3 separate regions of the Homo sapiens genome follow, and regions 1 and 3 are each linked to region 2. The links are contacts of gene promoters, found by promoter capture Hi-C in blood cells and fetal thymus (Javierre and others, 2016). All regions are on one chromosome and are shown on one strand. Each heading gives the region's core, a stretch centred on a gene start or on the middle of the fragment in contact. The rest is flanking DNA. Distances are from core to core; before and after follow the strand shown.

The links. The method cuts DNA at HindIII sites, captures the fragments that hold promoters and counts their contacts. A CHiCAGO score of 5 or more calls a contact.
Region 1: a fragment that was not itself captured here is called in contact with the fragment with the promoter of TMEM218 in region 2 in 1 of 17 cell types (endothelial precursors); the score reaches 7.2 in endothelial precursors.
Region 3: a fragment that was not itself captured here is called in contact with the fragment with the promoter of TMEM218 in region 2 in 2 of 17 cell types (total CD8 T cells and fetal thymus); the score reaches 5.5 in total CD8 T cells.

What each region holds. Positions count from the first base shown.
Region 1 is chr11:125,400,808-125,405,449 of GRCh38, reverse strand. The region is part of intron 7 of PKNOX2 (PBX/knotted 1 homeobox 2); the gene reads right to left. Among named protein-coding and RNA genes, the nearest start is that of FEZ1, 93 kb to the left of the region's middle. The HindIII fragment of the contact is 4,522 bases long and covers 533-4,642 here.
Region 2 is chr11:125,108,305-125,112,940 of GRCh38, reverse strand. TMEM218 (transmembrane protein 218) reads left to right here and starts at 1,315. Exons shown (of 5, transcript NM_001258244.2): 1 at 1,315-1,402. RefSeq lists enhancers at 721-900, 263-1,175, 1,531-1,620 and a silencer at 991-1,060. The HindIII fragment of the contact is 1,270 bases long and covers 489-1,758 here.
Region 3 is chr11:124,834,606-124,839,639 of GRCh38, reverse strand. No RefSeq gene overlaps it. Among named protein-coding and RNA genes, the nearest start is that of ROBO3, 28 kb to the left of the region's middle. The HindIII fragment of the contact is 1,925 bases long and covers 1,364-3,288 here.

The DNA.
Region 1 (4,642 bases), core at 1,544-4,043, 290 kb before region 2:
CTGTCTGTCCCTGTGAGCCACCGTGCTTCATTTTTAATAGGGAAAGGGCTTGAACTGCCCTGGGAAACTCAAGGAAGACTTCATTTCCACTCAAGGAAGGAATTCCTGGAAGAAACCAGAATGGGACAAAGACATGAAGGAGTGAAGGAGATAAATGACAGAAAAGTTTCTGTTTAAGCTGTTTTGAAATAGGTGGAATTTTTATCTTACTTGGATGCCTGTGAAACAGGGGAATGAACGGGATGGCCTGGCAAAGATCCTTCCAGCTGAGGACTGTAAAAGAGCCCATGCCATTTCCTAAGGATTGTGTGGGAGGGTGGGTGACGGTGAGTCGGTGGCCGGAGTGGGGTGCAGTGCGGAGCCAGCCCCAGCCACCTGCCATCCTCCCCCCGGCCACTAGAGGTCTCTGCTGATCCACCGGCTCAGACCACACTCACCAAAGCCTCCCAGAAGGCGCGTGCTGGCGGCTCCCCTGCCTGGGCTCGGGGCGGGTGGGGGTCGGTTCTGAATGTCTCCTTTCTGCTGGAAAGCTTGTCCTGACCTCTCCAGGGCACAGCCGCGGCCCGTCCTCTGGACTCTTCAAAGCCTCCCATCTGCCTTACATACTGGACACAACAGAATGGTTCTCTCTAATGCAGGCGTCGTCTTTCCCTAGCTTGGTGGCAGGCTTTTTGAGGGAAAGAGGGGTCTTTCTCTGAATTCCCCGAAACTGCTTAGCGCAATGTTAAGTGCATGGTACATGCGAGATACATGTGTGGTCTGACTTTGGCCTAAGGCTGTGGGTGTATTCCTGTGTGTGGTGGTGTGTGTGTGTTTGTGTGTGTGTGATGTGTGTGTTTGTGTGTGTGCCCGCGCAAATGTGCCTTAGGAGGGTGGAGAGGTTGTCCCTGTCCCCAGACACCCCTTCCCGGCAGCATCCCTCCGTTCTGGCAGAGCCAGGGCCCTGTCTTAGACCAAGAAAAGCCAGATTCCCAAACTCGGGAAAGCCAAGCACATGTAAACAAGCCACCTAATCCTGTTCTTGTTCCACTCCTGTTGGGGGCCTTGGTCTCAAGGGAAAGGCAGTTCTGGCCTGTGGGGACAAGCAGCAGCTGCTGCTCTTAAGGAACATTCCTTCTCAGGCGGGAGAAGCGCTCAGGTTTCACTAGCCTGGCGGCAAAGGCCACCCTCTGGTCTCTGGGCTCCACGGCTGCAGGGCTGGGGGTGAGGAACCGGCAGAAGAGACAGCTTTAATGCCTGTGACAGGCAGTGTGGCTCATTTTATTCCACTTCAGTCTAGGGATGCCCCCTGTCCATCTAAGTAGTGATCTTTCCAGGGTAGATTGCCCCCTACCCCAGCCCCATCCAGTCTTCTCCCTGGTCCTGTCCTCAGGATGCTTAGCCACTGGGCAGAACCTCTAGGGTCCTGGCTGAGGTGATGGCCCCCTACCCCTTCCGCCCCCTGCCAATCTGGAAAATCCAAAATTCCTTAGAGGTCAATAGGCAAGTGCCACCCTTCTCAGGTGGGGATGCATTGATTAGCCCCCTTCCTATTCTGCTGGGGAGGCGCAGAGCTGCAGAGTCGCATCTGGCAGCTGGGCCTAGCATCTCAGAATGTCCTCAACTTTGTACCTCTCATTTCCCTACTTCCAGTCTACTAGCAAATCCAAATTCTTGCTTCGTAGCAATTGGCTTCTTCCTCTGTAGTCCCTACCCCACTGACCAATAGCTAGGTAGGGTCATCACTCTCCACCCAGGTCCCAGGACCCCTGATTCTTCTCCCCATGTGTCACAAAAACATATCCCCATGTAGCAAGAAGAACATGGGCTCTGGAGTAGCCCATCCCGGACTCCAGCACTTGCTAGGTGTGTGACTTTGAGCCAGGGTCTTCACTTCTCTCAGCTTCTCTTTTCTTGGATGTAAAATGGAGAAAATCATGTGTACCTTGCAGCCTGTCATGAAGAGTAAATTAGATAATCTGTGGAAAGCACCTAGTACACACCATGTTTGAGACAGAGGGGAGCTCAATAAATGTTCACCGTCTCCCCTCCTTCTGCCAGCTCTTCTTGGACCAATACAAGATGTGGCTGCTCAATTGATTTGTCTCCAGCGTGTCTCCAGCCCTGACCCTGTTGCCTACATTCTCCACTACCTTTAAAGTCTTTAGCAGTCGGCCACCACTATTAGCCCCAAAACAGAACTCCCACACATTTGGCTTCAAGGTACTCCATCATTACACTTGGAGACCTGGGACTGTGTCGCATCCATTTTTTATATCCCCAGAACTCAGTAGGCTCCAGAGGTGCCTGAATGGATGCAGGATGCGTGAATGAATGAGCCCCCTTCACCCCATCTCCTCTCTAGGGATTCTGATTGGCTCTCTCTGTTTCTCGCCTTCTTTCAGACTTCTTGCTACATTGGAAACACTCACCTTTATAAAGGTTGCCAAATAGGCTACCAACTCTCACCAAGCCTGCCTGAAATGCCACCTCCCAGAGGAAGCCCTCCCAAGGCCAATGAATCTGTAACTTCTCCAATCACAATGGGCAAAATCCTCCTGTTGTCCTCTCCACTCTGTACTGAGGTTTGTTTATCCTATTGTGGAGCAGGAACAAACTGGCCATGAAGGTGTGAGGGCTGGGTCTGGGACTTGGTCCCCCTCTGAGGAAGGATGAAGGATGCTGAGTTGAGACTGGGGCAACCTCAAGCCACACATGTGGATCACCCAATCCAGAATCCCTGCCTGCAGCTCCTCTCCCCATCTCTTTGGCTGCTCCTTTCCTCTGTACTCTTGACCCTGAGCATTTCACGGCTGACATGATTTATCTAGATCCTCATTGTGACTCATGGCTCTCTCTCCCTGAGACTGGGAGCTCCTCTTGGACAATGGCTTGTGTCTGTTCTCACAGGACCTAGCACAGAACATACAGTGAGTGCCCCCCAAACGCTTGGCAATTGAATGAGAACCATGATTCAATCCAATTTGCCTGGAATAGAGCTGAGGCTTAAATCTCCACAGAGAAAAAAGGATGAATTTCAGGTCAAACTAATACTTGAGTGAGGTGTCTCTCTAGTGGAATGGTTCCATTTGCGCCCTCTAGGAAGGACAGGAGAACCCAGAGTAGGGTCTAGAACCAGTCTCCTTACAGAGGATCCTGCCCCCACAAGAAGCCTGGGCTCTGAGGAGTAGGAAGCCTGGGTGTCATTGGGTGCCTGCAGCACAGGATGGGTTCCTAGGGAGGGGGAAAATCTAGCTGTGGCCCAGGTCTTTGAAAGTCTGCTTTAGTCCCCTGCTTGGTAGAACAGTCTCCCTTACTTCCCATCTCCACTTTGCCCAGCAGAGAAGACTCACACAGAGAAATCGAAGGCCGAGCAGGAAAACGCTCAACCCATCGATCTGGATGGAGGACACGGCATAGCATCTGGGAGTGGGGATACCAAGTTGAAAACAAAAATGTCTCCCGCTTTGCAACACAAGGCTGGATGATTAGCACACAGGGAAAACCATGAGCCAGCAGTTTGCAACAAAGCTGGCAGGCGGCTGGAATGTTGATCCAGAGGATCATGTTCCAGAGGGGAGACACCCCTCCCCAGGCCAGGCTGGTGCTCAGGCTATTTCAGGCCGGGGGGATTAAGGGTGAACCATGACGAATGCATGTGCCCGCGTGTGCACACACATACACACACACACACACACACACACTCACAAGCTCCTTTTCTCTCTCTCATACAGGCTCCTGTGTCTTGAACCCAAGACCTGCCTCCTGCACTGAAAGTCTCGGTCCCCGATTCTTAGCAGCCCTGGGCCTCTCCTTCCTGGGAGAGCCCATGCAAGCCCGGCCCCTACCTTAGTGCAATAATGACAGGGGCCTGTCCTGGGAAGGCTTAAGAGACGTGTGAGTGTGCAAGTGGGCCGAGGGATGGCCAGAGAAGGCAGGAGAGCAGGTTAGGAAGCTCCTGCCATAGCCTATGTGTAATTACCGTATTTACCCCTGAAGCCTGAGCAAAGCAGGCAGTGGCAGTCAGAGAAAATGCAGGGGCAAGTTTGAGTAATACAACAGGAGCAGCACATAGCACATCCTCCTGACTTTCCCGCCTCCTCGTACCCTGGCTGCGCACTGAGCCACATGCATTGTCCTTTCACTTGCTGTCACTCTTGCTGCCGTTCCTCTCTCCGTCTGTCCTTCTGCCCCGTCGTTCTCAGTATCGTCTCCCTTTTCCTGGGTTTGTGTGCCTCCCTGTCTCTCTCTCTTGCTCTTTTCCTCCAATTCTTCAGCCTGTCTCTGCTTCCCTCCTGAATGTTGACCCTGCATATTTGGCTTTCTTTCCCTTTATTTTTCTTCCTATTTCTCCTTTCCTCCTTTGGCTTCCCCTTGCCCCTGCCCCCCACCCAACTTTCTTTCTCTCATTCCATTATTTCTTTCAATAAATACTTCCCGGCCATCTTTCTTGCACAAGACCTTGTGGTAGCCACTGCTGGGGTCACAGGGAGAGTACACTAGGACTCTGAAGGGATGAGTCTATTTCAAGAGACTATCAGCAGGCAGAGGCTGGAAATGGCTGTTTTTGGCCTATAATAAGGTGATTTGGTGATTTCAAACATGTAAAATACTGTCTCTGCTCAAAAAGTGTTATCTAGGATAGGAAAATGAGATGAACACA
Region 2 (4,636 bases), core at 66-2,565:
ACAGAACATAGCTGCAGTCAACACTCAGTTCCAGTGAAATGAATTCATCAAAATAAAGGATTTCTTAGCCACAGAGCTTCTCACTGGGCCAAGTAATGTTAAGTTGCTAAACGCACAACAAATCATTGGTTACTTTATGTGATTGTAAATGAAGCCTCGAAAGTTGAATAAATTTGAGACGTGCAGTTGATGAAATTCAAGCATCTTCTTCTTTTTGGTTCATAAAGCTGTGATTCAGGAGAATTCCTTAAATCAGAGATTCAGTGCTCTAAGATTGAATAGGTTGCTTCATGATATTTCTTAAAATTTTGTTTAAGGTCAAAGGTTCAAACGGTGCAGCTCTCCAATTTGGTATTGATTATTGTTTGTTTCCCCTTCTTGATTCAGTGGTGGAGCACGCAGCCTCTGTCCTACTTCCTTTGGTTGTCCTGATTGATGCATCTTTTGGTCTAACAGGCCATAGCCTCAAAGCAAAGTCATGGCAAGCTTTAGTTGGCAGTTAGGTAACAGCAGTCTGCCAATAGCGTGGGCCAGCTCCAGTTCCAGCAGCCTGGCGGCAGAGGGTTTACTTGATGGACCCTGGGCCTCTTCCCCAGTCTGTCCCGTGGGTAGAATGATCTTTGCCTTTGTCTGTTTCGCAAGGCTAATGGAAGAATTAAATACCAAATAAAACAAGTCGAGATAAAGATAAATGAAGCGTGCCGTTATTACAACTGGTGCTTCGTCCTCAGTTCCCTCCAGGAGGGTTGTTGGGGACACTTAATGACCGGGCCTGAGCTGACTTGTCCACCACATCTTGCGCCCCACTCGAGCTAGTGGGTTGGGGATTGAGATGTTCATCAGGCCCCGGAAAAGGCATTGATGTCTAGATGACTGTGCAGTTCTCTGGAGTTCGAGATCTGAGCTGCCTGGCCCTGCTGCTTCGCTGCCTGGATGGGCAATCTCTATGGTGACAGCGAGTGAGGCCGGAAGAAGTCTCTCTCTTCCGCCCAACAACCCGCCCTCAGGCTAGACTGACCAATGGCCCAATGAGTTACGGAGAGATGGTGTGATTGACAGTGGAGTGGCGGGGGGGCGGGGAGTGCAGCTCGGACCGCTGCTACCCAACCGAACTGAGGTCGGTCCAAAGGCTGACAGGCACCGACCAATCGGAGGGCGTAACGAAGGGTGACGAGCCAACCCACCGCGCTCGGCGTTGCCGGGAGCCGCGCTAGGCGTAAGCTAATGAGGAAGAAGTTGGCCGTTGAAAGAGCAACGCTGATTAGTGAATCTTAAATCACCTAAATGAAAGCCCACTTGTGATTCGCCCTAAGTAAACCAGAGCCCCGTGGGCTGGAACGCGCCGGAATCTGAGGTGTGAGTAGAGCCTGGGGGAGAGTGGATCCAGGTGAAGGGGGCAGAGGTGAGGAAAGCGGGGCGGCTGCGGGGAAGGGAGAAAAGTGGAGGGTCGGGCTGAGGTGGTTGGAAGAAGGCGTGGGCGGACGGCGGTGCACGGACCTCGCAGACCACCCTTACCGCTGATCTGGACCCAAGGCCCGGCTAATAAATACTTAATTGGAGGCAGAGAAGGAAGGACTGTTTTGTTTCATGCTCTTAAGAAAAGGAAGTGTCAGTGCCTGATTCAGATCTCTTATGACCGAGACCTTAATCCCTCTCTAGCTCCTGGGAGGTGGCCAGGTGCACATTCTGAAGACGAGACATGGGGGGCATTGTTTTCCTGTCGCCAGTTTGAATCTGCAACAGGGTTGGGGAGAAGCTTAGAGTTCAAGTGGGGTGTTCCCAGGCTGCAGTGCTGTGAGATCCAGAGAGCGGATAGACCGAGGCTCTGCAGCGCTTCCAACCCACAACACCGTCCAGGAGAGGGATGCAAGGAAGAGACCTAGGTTTACTGATCCTCCTTTTTCTATCAACGTGTTAAGAGCAGATGCTACATCGGTGGCATTTTGGGAGCTTGGCAACTGATTTTTTCCCCAGGCTTGCATTTTATCTAATTACAAAGGTAGAGGCGTTATTCTAATATTTTAAAATTCAAAAGATAGTGAAGTGTTTAAAGTAGAAACATAAAAGTGTGAAAGTAACCCCCCCCCCCCGTTATTTTTGAAGGTTTGGAAAACAGCTATAAAGCAAAGTGAAAAGGACTCTTCCAGAGGAGCACTTCACTCCTTGTAACCCACTGTTTTCTGTTGCTTTCAAGGGCTTGAGTCAGTGTGAAAATCGGGGGATGGGTGAGATATCTCCCTCCAGCAGCAGCACTTAGGCCACATTACCCTCTGAGGAATCCACATTTGTCTTAGATAGTAAGTCATCTTATAAGTCATCTTATAATGGCAGTTAGTATTCTCGCTCATGATGATCAACCTGGTGATGAGTACCGTATTTTTAATCCATTAGGTTACCTGTGCAGGGATCAGTCCATTTATTCCTATTTTCTCTGACAGCTGGATGAAAGGGTATGTAGAAACAACCATTAAATGAACACACACATCTAAAAGGTTTTGAACAAACTCTCTCAGAGAAAAACCTCACAGCATTGAGCACAGAAGGAAAACATTAGCCCTGTAGTTGCTTTTGTTGTCAGCTGCTGAACTGTTCAAATTTAAATTATTTTTTTTCACTCCAGTCTACCTGCTTTAAATGCCACAGATATTAAGTAAATGGACTTACCCTTGAAATCGGGTTGGCCAAGCCATCACTTCTCAAAGAAGGTTTAATGATGGCATGAACCCGTTTTTATATTTTATTGTATTGTACTCAATAACAATAATTTAGCTATTCTAATATGGGAAATTATCACAGATATTATTCTCACATTTAAATAAGATAAAAATGACTAGATGTTCTCTCTTCCTCTATAGCAGCACTCTATACTATACCCAGCCCTTCTTTTCTATGCTTAGTAAGAAAATGTATAGTTTGCTTATAAAATTATGAGCTCCATTCTTAAAAGAGCTTGGGAATATTTATCTTATTACTTTAAAGCCATACCATATATAAATCCAATGTCTCACGAACTCTTAAGCTACTAAGGGGGATTGAAGGGCAACATTTCTAATGGCGCCAGCCAGCTTCAACTACCATTTGCCCTCTATTCTAACTGTTAGAGTTGGTCCAAGTCTTCTGGGTTATTTGTGTAATATCCAGAATAGCACAAATTAAATTTAAATAGTTGTTTTCTTAAGAGCAGTACCATCAGCTCAGTCAACTAAGCTAGAAACTTGTGTCATTTCTAACACCTTCTCCCTTGACACAGCTAAGACTGGAGGTCAGACCCTCATCATCTCTTATCTGGAGAATTGCAATAGTTTCCTAACTGGTCACCCAATTCATATGCATCCTGCTGCCCATTACCTTTTTAAAAATTAAAAATTATCACGAAAAATTTAAAAACAGAAAATAGTACATTGGGTAGTATAATATCTATGTTCCACCAATCAGATTAATAAATATTAACATTTTGGCACACCAGCTCAAGTTTTTTATTTTAAAGAAATAAAACATCACAGATTTAGTTCAGATCCCTTTTATTTCCACTCCTAACCCCATTCCCTTTCCTTCCTCCCTCTGCAGAGGCAAATAGTCTTTTGAAATTGTCATGTATTGTTTATGCCCATGTTTTTATACTTTTGCTGTATATACGTTCGTCAGAAACAATATATATTACTGTTTAGATTGTATTTAATTTTAAAAATACAAGTAGTATCATACTGTGGGTTCCATTTTGCAACTTGTTTTTGTCACTCAACATTGTTTTTGAGATATATTCACATCAATACATATAGATCAATTTCATTCATTTTAAGTATTCATTATGAATATATAATATTGTATCTGTTCCCTGATTGATGGACATTTAGGTTTTTTCCTGATGTTTTGCTATTGTAAACAAAGCTGCAATAAACACCTTGTACATGTCTCTTTATGCAAGACTGTGTCTAGAACAGTGGTTCCCCAAGAAGATGTTGCTGCCCGTTTTAGGGTGTTTTGGAATTTGTGAAGATGTATTTTGTTATTCTTTGATTGGAGGCACTACTGGGGTTTACAGATCAGGACTGCGGATACTGGATGTTCTGTAATGTATGGGACAGTCCTCACAACGAAGAATTGTCCTGCATCCTGTGCAAATTTTGAGTATCCCACAGGATACTCATTTATAATTATCTGAGTGTAGAGCCTAACTCCGGTTTTTGTATAAACATAATGTATTTTTTGGCACAGTTTAATATAGTAAAATTTCCAGGAATGCAACTCTAATGTAAATCAGAGGAAAATTATACTTATTTGTGGTTTGGAACTTTAACAAGAGTTGTTCATCACTCTAGCAAATCACATAACTGAAGGCAGCACAGCTCGTGGTATTTGAGTTGCCAGAACAACACACCTGCATAGTCTGCATTTGAAGCTTTTGCATTCATGGTGATTCTAAGTTTAGGTGCAAGCATCTGACTACTGTACTTCATTATGTATTCTAGTGTAGTCAGCCTGAACATTTGTATATTTAAACATATGCTATTTCATTACGAATTACTTTCCATTTAAAATCAACTTCTGTATATCATATAGAGATCTAGTTTTATTCTTTTCCTATTGGAGAATCATTTGTCCCAACACTATCTATGAAGTTCTTTACCCATTGAAT
Region 3 (5,034 bases), core at 1,077-3,576, 270 kb after region 2:
GCCCTCCACTCGCCCGCGCTCCCACCCAGGTGTCCGCGTGCGGGGATTAGGCGGCCCGCCGGGCTCCCGCCTCCTCCATCAGCCGCTAATGGGCCGTCCTCGGCCTGGCCCCCGCGCCATTGTGTGCGCGTGGGGGTGACGCCGGGTCTCCGCGGCGCGGTGGAGGGTGACCGCGCGCCGCTGCCACCCCGCTTCACACCTGCTCCCCGCCCCCAGCCCCGGCCGCGCTTCGTGTTCCCTCCCTCCCCGCGGGAGGGGTCTCAGCTGGGGCTGCAGTTGGTAAAGAGGCCGTGGAGAGGCCGGCGGCGGCCCGAGGAGGAGCCATAAATTTGGAGCAGATGCGGCCTGACAGTCACCCAGCCCGGGGAGGTGGGGGAGGGCTCTACGCCCCTCCCAGGCCGCGTCTTCTGGTTTGCAGCTGAGTTAGATGGATTCCAGGCCGAGGTGACCCGGGACTTTGGACACACGGAGCCTGTGCTCCTCACTCCCCCACCTCTGCCGGCCGCCCATTGTGTGCCCACGTGCAGGGAGAAGGAATAGGGGGCAGGGACATGTCTGCATTGGCTTATGATTTTCCCCCTAAAAAATGTCGTTTTCCAGCAGAGACTGTGACAAAGTCGGCCACCCTGGCTCTGAGCTGGCGCTTTTTGACAGCAGCCAGAGAAAAATATGGAAGATAGTAGAAGCAAGCTTCAGCTGTTCATTCTGCACTATTTTTTAAGTGCCTGTTTTGTGCTAGAAAGGTAAGGAGGCACAGGCATACAGGATGGGGAGATGGGAAAAGGTGGCGGAAAAAATACCAAGGACTAATACTTGCCATACTATAAGTATTGTGTGTACTGTAATTCTGCACATTAAATAGTATTTTCCTTTAGAAAGTGGCAGTTCCTCCAGCAGAGGAGGGAGCAGGGTGCAGTGTCTCGGGGGGTTGATGGAGTTCGCTCTCAATCCAGGTATCCCATCCACAAATATATGCGTGTCAGGGGTGCTTTCCGCGGATCTGGAAGGGAGTGAAAAGAGCTGGAGCTGCACCCAGGTGGGGTGGACACAGCCCTATTTATCTTATTTGCTCTGGGTACTGTAGGGATTCTTCTCTAGTGTCGCTTTAATTGAAGACTGAGTCTCCCATCTGAAGATCTTGTGACCAAGGGTGATTGGAGGGTCAGTGTCCACAAAGCTGGTGCTCAGTTGGCAAAAACCTCTGCCACCTCCCTTTGTGGCTGTTCTCTGCTCCCTCTAACACTCTGGGCTGGACTGGGTAACTAGATTGGCTTCTAGGACCCATTGCTTCTCCCCTTAGCTCCCACTCCGACAAGTCTCCCTGGTCTGTGCCCAGAGGATCACCCTAAGACTAGAGCAAGCTTGTGCAACCCACGGCCCATGGGCCGCATGCAGACCAGAACACCTTTGAATGCGGCCCAACACAAATTCATATATGTTCTTAAAACATGATGAGGTTTTTTGCAAAAAAAAAAATTTTTTAGCTAGTGTATTTTATGTGTGGCCCAAGACAATTCTTCTTCCAATGTGGCAGGGAAGCCGAAAGATTGGACACCCCTGGACTAGAGATTCACAGCTTGCATGAAAATCACCTGGAGGCCTTATTAACCCTGCCCTACAGTTTCTGATTCCTTTGATCTGGGGTACGGGCAGAGATATTGCATTTCTGAAAGTTTCCCAGGTGGTGACAGTGGTGATACTGGGGGCCACACTTTGAGAGTACTGGCCTACAAGGAAAGGAAAATAGGGGCAGGTGAAAAAAGGAAGGAGCTGAAGTCTTCAGTGCTGGAGGAGGTTACTGGAAGCTGAAGCTCTCCAGGGTACTTGGGTATCTTCACCCTCTGTGAGGGATCCATAGGCCAAATCCCCAAATAATTGTGGACATATTCCAGAATTCATATTCTAGTATTCGAGTGTGTGTGTGTGTGTGTGTGTGTGTGTGTGTTTCTGAAGACTTAGCACTCCCCCTAATGGCTTCAGATGATTCTGCACTCTCCTCAGCCTTTCAACGGGAAGCAAGAATTACTCTTATTTTCCCAGCCTAACTTGGTTATCCACTCCCATCTCTTTGTCACTGATGGAGCGGGGCATTGTCTTACACATTTGTTTACAAATTGAAGAGCATAGTTTTTTTTTACACAATAGTTTGTGTACTAATGAATGAATTAGTGCTATCTTTCCTCTTTAGGAGAACCTTGTTCTCCTAAAATCTACCTTAAGTCACATTTGAAGTGTTGTAGAACCACCTACCAGTGTTCTAAAACACTTCAAATGTGTTCATAGGGAATGAGTTCCAGATGGTTGCCTAAAAATTCTCCCCAAGGTGTCGGTGCCGTTGTCATCAGTTGGGAACTTTTGGCTGGCGGCAAGCACAACCCGAGTCAGAGGTTAAGGATGGATTTGCAAAGTGGAATTTTTAAGTGTGGTATATGGACAGATCAGATGAGAAAATCAAGTGGCATTTTATTTCTCACCACCAGGTGGCAGACCTAACCTCATTAATGAGAATCATCCCTAGACTTGAAGCCTGGCCTGAATTCTACTTTTTTCATATATGAGCCAGGGCAAAAGAGCTGTTTCTCTACTTAAATGACTCAGAAATTTGGGGTAGGGAGAACAATGCTTGAAAATATCTTTGTAGGCCGCGGTGGCTCACGCCTGTAATCCCAGCACTTTGGGAGGCCGAGGCGGGTGGATCACGAGGTCAGGAAATCGAGACCATCCTGGCTAACACGGTGAAACCCCGTCTCTACTAAAAATACAAAAAATTAGCCGGGTGTCGTGGCGGGCGCCTGTAGTCCCAGCTACTTGGCAGGCTGAGGCAGGAGAATGGCGTGAACCCGGGAGGCGGAGCTTTGCAGTGAGCCGAGATCGCGCCACTGCACTCCAGTCCGGGCAACAGAGCGAGACCCCGTCTCAAAAAAAAAAAAAAAAAAAAAGAAAATATCTTTGTAACTGCCGCCAATGTACTTGAGTAATCCCTTGAGCTTCCTGATCCGTGAGGAAGGGCTCGCTGATACTTTTTTTTCCTTCTGGAAAGAGGGAAAACATATGGATGTAACAAAATGGGTTACTTAAGAAAAATGTAAGCGATCTAACTTCTAACCAGAGGTTTCTGCCAGGGCATAAACACATGGCAGCCCTAAACAGCTTTGCAGGCACATGGCTTCCTTCACTTCCAGCCCGTCTGGCAGGCACCCTCTTAATTCCTACCAACTTAATTCCTACCACCCGAGTTCTTTGTTCTGTCGCCCATATTGAAGTTTCCTCAAACTAAAAATGAAAGCTTTATTATAATTCTGGAATCTACTCAGGGCCTTCTTAACTAAATTCTAACTTGCAGTATACGGACATGTAGTTGATCTCTCCTTTATCCCAAATGATCTTGACCCTCAGATCATAGTCAACGTATAAATTAAATTCAACCTAAATTATATAACTATAGCAAGGGTTACACACACACAGCAAGAATGCAGGACGGGCGCGGTGGCTCATGACTGTAATCTCAGCACTTTGGGAGGTCAAGGTTGGCGGATCACCTTAGATCAAGAGTTCAAGACCAGCCTGGCCAACATGGCAAAACTCCATCACTACTAAAAATATAAAACTTAGCCAGGTGTGGTGGCGTGTGCCTGTAGCCCCAGTTCTCAAGAGGCTGAGACACGAGAATCTGCTTGGGAACCTGGGAACCTTGAACCTGGAAGGCTGAGATTGTAGTGAGCCAAGACTGCACCACTGCACTCCAGCCTGGGCAACAGAGCGAGACTCTGTCTAGAAAAAATAATAATTATATATATATATATATCTTACAGGAGGGGTCAATGAATGTTTTGGGAGAAGGGCAGTGAAGATTTCTGTTCTACACACCTTTCTCATCTCAGGGCTATATTACAGCAGATTCTGACAGTATAGTAGCTTTCTTCACAATGTCAAGATCAGAGCAGATCTATACCTTACATAGAAGACAGAAAATTGACTATACCAACATCAGGTCCTCCAGCATAGGTGGGACATTACCTTTTCAGCCTGCAGGGCTTAGTACTTCTTTCAGCTGATCGGCTTCAGGCCTCTTCCTCATTTTGGAAAGGGCAAATCTCAGGTGCACACTGAAAATCTTAGACTAAGTAGCCTGGTACAGTGGCTCACGCCTGTAATCCCAGCACTTTGGGAGGCCGAGGAGGGTGGATCACGAGGTCAAGAGATCGAGAACATCCTGGCCAACATGGTGAAACCCTGTCTCTACTAAAAATACAAAAATTAGCCAGGCGTGGTGACATGCACCTGTACTCCCAGCTATTCGGGAGGCTGAGGCAGGAGAATCGCTTGAACCCAGGAGGCGGAAGCTGCAGTGAGCCAAGATCATGCCACTGCACTCCAGCCTGACGGCAGAGCCAGACTCCGTCTCACAAAAAAAAAAAAAGAAAATCTTAGACTAAGTAAAACCCTCCAGCCCAGAGTGCTTCTCTGCATTGGGCAATTCACTCTCACTGCCAGAGCTCCCTTATACACTTTAAATGCTTATAAATACACTAACAGACAGAGCCTATGGGAAACAATATAAGAGGATTGGATAGTAAGTATTTGGTTTTTTCTATGTAGTTTGTTAACAGAATCAGTCAAAATATATTTATGGAATGCCCACAGGCTACATAGCATGGTACTTCACCCTTCATTGAAAATCCATTAAAACAATTACTGGGTCATGCCTGGAAACTTTTTTCACAAAGGAATTTTCTTTAGTTGCTGGGTTGACAGGAACTAATTTGAGATGCAAAACTAACAACCCCATTTGAACTAGCAAGCCCTTATGTAAACCACTACAAGTGATATGTTTGAATTTATTCGCACCTGTGCCTGTATATATGGACTTAAAAGCTAAAGATATCGTGGTATTAATATGCATATAAGGGAAGGAGAGTTTTAAAAGTTAGTGAATCATCTTCCACTAATGCTTGGTAAATGTTTACCAAGAAGGTTGTGCCCTGGTTATAGGCCGGTAATGACCACCAATAAATAAAACTGTTTTCACCTCTA